Regions from separate parts of the Homo sapiens genome. Here region 1 is linked to region 2. Evidence: promoter capture Hi-C in 16 types of primary human blood cells and fetal thymus (Javierre and others, 2016). All regions are on one chromosome and are shown on one strand. Each heading gives the region's core, a stretch centred on a gene start or on the middle of the fragment in contact. The rest is flanking DNA. Distances are from core to core; before and after follow the strand shown. Region 1 overlaps TNR (tenascin R). Region 2 holds the start of TNR (tenascin R).

Region 1 (2,854 bases), core at 63-2,562, 290 kb before region 2:
TCTCTCCAATAGGGGATTTTGTCACTGTGGGACTAGGATTGGGGAGACACTTTTGGATACGCCGTCCCAGAGGAGCAGACATGTGGAACCTGCTGAAAGTAGTGCGGCGGCTGGCATTCCCTCAGCCCTTTATGGAGCCCGTCTATCTCAGCAGCAGGTAGAGCTATCTGCTCCCAGCTTGGCAGGATTGTAGCTCTTACTGATGAAAGAGAAATCAAGCCAAGCCTGAAAAATGACTTAGCATTTTGAACGTTGGAGAGACACAGACTAATGCGTTCTCTCCTTATATGTTATATGGTTCAGTGACTTGGCTGTACTTCTATAACGAATTGCTCTGGTTGTACCCAGCCAGGTCTTACCTGTCATCTCTGAGCTCTCTGGGAATACAAAGCCTGACGTGGCTGAGAGTGGACATGTGCTTTGGGTATTATGTCAAGTGTGCTGTGCCATGCCACATGTTTCTCTGTCCCAGGCTCCCACTCAGGGGCAACCAACGCAGCAGCCAAAAGAGAGGAAGCAGAAGTTAGCAGCTGAGGTGAGAATGTAATGGGGACCAGCATCGTGCACCGGTGCCTCCCTTCTGTCAGCTTCCTTTGAGGTCCCAGGACCCCTCTATTCTGCTACACTTTCACTCTGGATGGTCAAATCAGATATTCAGACTTAAGGAATCCCACAAGCATTGGGAATGCCTCCTGTGTGCAGGCACTGTTCTGGGCTCTGAGGCTCAGCAGTGAACAAAGCGCCCTGCTCGAAAGTCTAGCGGGGGAAATGACAATACACAAGAGTAATGTGATAGGATATCAGGGCTGTAACTTTTACAAAGAAAATAAACCCTGGAAACAGGGCCTGGGGACTGCATGGGCACAGGGGGCTGCTGCAACCCAGGTGGACGGGGGGACGGCTGTCGGAGGAGGAGGGATTTCAGCAGAGACCTGGATGGAGAGAAGGAGCTGGCCACACTCAGGCCTGGGGAAGATTTGGTGCAAAGGCCCTCCCAGGCCATGCTTTGGGTGTGTGAGAGCTGGGCAGAGGCTCACATGGCTGTAGCCTGGGAAGTTGGGGGGACAAAGGTGACAGAAGCTGGGACCTGTGGGGCCTAGTGGATGAGGGAAAAGAGTTTAAATTGTGAAGTTTGGAAGAACTGTAAGGGAGTAAAGAGTGACGGGAACTGATTTGTATTTTTAAAGGATGACCCTGCACACTACTGTTTGTAGCAGCATGATTCACAATAGCCAAAAGGTGGAAAAAGCTCAAATGTCCATTGAGGGATAAATGGAAAAACAAAATGTGGCATATATATACCATAGCATACTATTCAGTCTTAAAAAGGAAGGAGATTCTGACACATGCTACAACATGGATGAACCGTGAAGTCATTATGTGGAGGGAGAGAAGCCCTTCAGACAGGGGGCAGCGGGAGTTACCGTGTAATGGATGCAGAGATGCAGCCAGCATGATGGAAAAGTTCTGGAGACAGATGGTGGTCACGGTGGTACAACAATGTGAATATAGTTAATGCCAGTGAATTATACACTTAAAATTGTTAAAATGGTATCTATTTTTATATATCTCTTACCAAAACAAAAGACAAAAGAGAACCAAAGACAACCCTGCCTTCTGTGTGGAGAATCTAGAGAGACAAAGGAAAGGATGAAAACGATACTTACAGAAAAGTTGCAAGAATAGGGCAGAAACTCCCACTAATGCCTCATCCGGATGATTGGTGACGTGTTTTGGAAATAAAGCTGAGCCAGACTTGATGCTGAGCCAGGTGTGAGGGCTGAGGGAAAGAGAAGTTTATGGTCTGTCCCCTGGAGCCATAGAAAGTTAGATGTGGAAGGGAAGCAACTGAGTCACAGACTGCCAGGTACTAGATCACAAAGATGAGCCCGGAGAGGGGAGGGGACCTCTCTGGGGACACACAGGTTTCTGCAAAGGGCCATGATGTGAGCTTAGGTTTCTAACTTGCAGTTTTTTGGTTTTTAAACTTTAATTATTTATTTATTATTTTATTATTATTATTTTTCAGAGACAAGGCATCTCTCTGTCATCCAGGCTGGAGTGCTGTGGCGTGATTATAGCTTACCACAGCCTTGAGCTCCTGTGCTCCTCCTGGGCTCCAGTGATCCTCCTACCTCAGCCTCCCAAGTAGCTGGGACTACAGGCATGCACCACCACACCTGGCTAATTAAAAAAGTTTTTTTTAGAGACTATGTCTCGCTTTGTTGTCCAGTCTGGTCTCGAATTCCTGGCTTCAAGTGAGCCTCCTGCCTTGGCCTCTCAAAGTGCTGGTGTTACAGTCATGAGCCACTGTGCCTGGCTGTTTTTATTTTTTTAAATCAAGGGTGAAACATTTTCATTTTAGCCATATTTCACCTTTATGAAAAGGTCAGCCAGGTGGTGAGAAAGGGGTGGACAGGGTGAATTTTTTCCAGAGATGGGGCCCTGCTGTCCTCACAGGCAAAGGAAGATGTGCTTAGGCCTAGTACTGTTGCAGCCACTCAACAGTTCCTCAGTTTCTCCATCTTCTAAATGGGTCTGGTTGTCTGTCTGTTGGGGTTGGTCTAGTTGTCTGTCTCTTGGGGTTGTTAAAAGGGTTTTAGTAGACAGAGCTCTATCCAAAACATCTCCCATGCTCCTAAATGTCTTCCACGCTTCTTGCCACAGTGTGTGAAATTCCCATTGTTAGAATCATTCATCCAGATTACAGGCAGAGGCCAGAGAATGTTCAGGAGCTGCTGGCCATACTGCATTCATTCATCCATTCATTCACAGTGTGCCAAACTCTACGCTAAACATAGGGTGGTAGAACTAAGACATTCTCTCTTTCCCACAACAGCTATTCAGATAAGAT
Region 2 (2,700 bases), core at 125-2,624:
AGTGAAGAAAGAAGTAATAATGAGCTCCTGTTTGCAGAGCCTCTCAGTGCTGGAGGAGAACAGAGTACCACTTCAAGCCCTCCTGAGTCTGGGACAAGTCTAATTTTGTTTCTGCTCACCCTAGACATATAGAGACAAACCTTTATTCTTAGTTGTTTTTCACTGCCAAATGCCCCAGAAAACAGGGCAGAACAGACTTTGTCTTCTTTCCAACCACCCATAGCCAAAGATGGCATAAAAGTGGAGGGTACCTCCTGCCTCCTTGCAAATGTAATATAACCCACACCAGCCAGTCTCTGCAAAGCTCAAGACACTAGCACTTTCCTACCACCATGAAGTCAGAAGGGACCTCAACCCCCCAAAGCCGCCCCAGCCTGAGCTTCACCTGTTGCACCTGCCCACTTACCATGGGTTCACACCAGAAGAGAAAGTAAAAGGTCAGGTTGGGCTCTCTCCACAGCAAGAGCCCAGAGAATACTAGGAAACTGACATTTTACAAAGCACCTCTTTAAAGCTCTCTCAGAGGTGCGTAACTTTTAACTCTACCTCCACTCCCAACCCCCCAGGCTTCCTTTGCAACTCTTTCCCACCATGGATGGCTTGTCGGGAGAGAGTTAAAGAAGGTGCACGACTAATTCCCCAAACCATCTCGCTTATCTACAGACAAAAAGAACAGCCTTACATGGAGACACGCAGAAACCACCCGCAATTTAGCTCAGACCTCACCTGTCTTATGCAACAGTACACACACACACACACACACACACACACACACCCGCAAGGCCAGAGTCCAATCCCCCTTTAATTCGGTAAACATAGTTTTGCGCCTTTCTTTTCCCTACGCAGAACCCGACTCTACTGGCAGCAGAGAAATAGATGTAACCCTAGTGCCAAATGCCTTGCAGAACACACAGATACACAGGAACCAAAATGCATCTCATAGCTCTCCTTGGTGCTGAAATCACGTTAGCCAGAAAATCAAAGGAGCGAGTGCTCTGGACTTACCCAGGCTGGGGGTGGGCGGCCGGGGAGCGAGAGGAGCTTCCTGGGAAGAAAATTCTTGCTTGCTCAGGCTGGAGCCAGCTGATGCGCTCACCTAGAGAGCCCTCCTCTTTCCCTTCTCTTCCCTTCCTCCTATTCTGGGAGGAAGAGACAAGGCTCCACGAAAGAAATGAAACCCAAGCTGTCAGGGCTACGGGTGGAAGGAGAATGAGGAGGCAACCAAAATAAGATCAAAAAGTCAGGTGGCTTCACTCCACTAGTGGTAATTCCTTGGGTCAGAGAGGACCCCCTTCTCTCACTCTCCCTGGGTCTGCCCGTCTCCTCTGGGTGTTGAGCCAACAGCCTTAGCACAGTCGGTTCCTGCCTCTGACGTGAAAGAGAGGAGGAAGCCTGGGACTGCTTTGCTGTCTCTCTCTCTCTCTCTCTCTCTCTCTCTCTCTCTCTCTCTCTCTCACGCGCTCTCTCTTTTCCCCTCTTGCTGAAATTTCAGCAGCATGATTTTTTTAAGCCTCCGTTTTTTCCATCCCCCTACAAGCAGCCCCCTAGTGGACAGAAAAGAAAAGCATCCTAAATCCTCTTGAACAGTCCAGATTCAGGCACAGAAATACTCCCCGCACCCAACTCTTGGAGCTGCCTCTGCATAGGCAGGGTCCTGAAGAAGATAGAGGCTTCCCTCTGACCAACCCAGATAAGAAGAGAAAGGGAGAGGATGGAAGCTTTTGCAGATCCTTTGCCCATGATTGAAGGAGAAATCCAGGGTGGAATGGGTTGGGATAGAATGTTTTGGAATAAGGTCAGTTGTGGGGTTCTCAAGTGGTTTGAGGTCCGGGCTCAGCAGAAGGAACCCTCCAAAAAGTCAGCGTCTGCAGCCAGGTGAAGTATGTGTATACGTAGCACAACCCAGGCATGGGAATGCCTAAAGAGGCAGAGGATACAGGGAGCTGGCCCTTCATCCAACTCCACAATATAGCTTTTTTGTAAAGCTAGTAAGAAAAATATCTGAAAAGATATGGCCTGAGATCATCTCAGAAGTAGAGACAGAAGTGACCTTGATGCACATTTATGGAGAACCTTGGCAGAGAAGGGGCATCAAGGGGTCACTGCTCATAGGCTCATAAGGGATATCTAACATTCTCTTTTAAATGTACAGCCACACAGCCTCCCGGAAAGAGTCCTAATACTTACATCTAAAAATCTGAGTCCTGGTTTCAGACTGCCACTTGCTTACTGGACATTTTGCTTCTCTATGGCTCAATTTTACTGTTTGTAAAATGTGGATAATGCTGCCCCCTCCCTACTGAATAGGAATGCTAAGGGACTGGAATGATATAGAAACATAGAACCTCAGGATTGGCAGGGAATTTAAAGGTAATCTTATACAAACACTCTTCTTATATTTGATTCACTCCTGGCAAATAACAATAGCTAACATTTATAGAGTGTTTATACCAGGTGCTAGGCACTGTTATAAGCCCTTACATGTATTAGCTCATTTAAGCCATACAATAACTCTATAATGCAGAGGCTATTATTGCTACTCTATAGACTGGGAACTGAGTAACAGAGGAATGAAATAACTTTCCAAAGATCACACAACTAGTGAGTGTCAGGGATGGTAATGGAACCTGAGCCATCTGACCCTGGAGCTTCCTCATTGAATTACCATGTTCTATAAATGTACACTTCAGGAGTGACATT

The links. The method cuts DNA at HindIII sites, captures the fragments that hold promoters and counts their contacts. A CHiCAGO score of 5 or more calls a contact.
Region 1: a contact is called between a fragment that was not itself captured here and the fragment with the promoter of TNR in region 2, in 3 of 17 cell types (naive B cells, total B cells and endothelial precursors). The highest score is 8.3, in naive B cells.

The regions. Positions count from the first base shown.
Region 1 is chr1:175,451,551-175,454,404 of GRCh38, forward strand. All of the region lies in intron 2 of TNR (tenascin R), which reads right to left. Among named protein-coding and RNA genes, the nearest start is that of KIAA0040, 260 kb to the left of the region's middle. The HindIII fragment of the contact is 4,322 bases long and covers 1-2,854 here.
Region 2 is chr1:175,742,221-175,744,920 of GRCh38, forward strand. It overlaps TNR (tenascin R), which reads right to left and starts at 1,375. Exons shown (of 23, transcript NM_003285.3): 1 at 1,006-1,375. The HindIII fragment of the contact is 6,381 bases long and covers 1-1,716 here.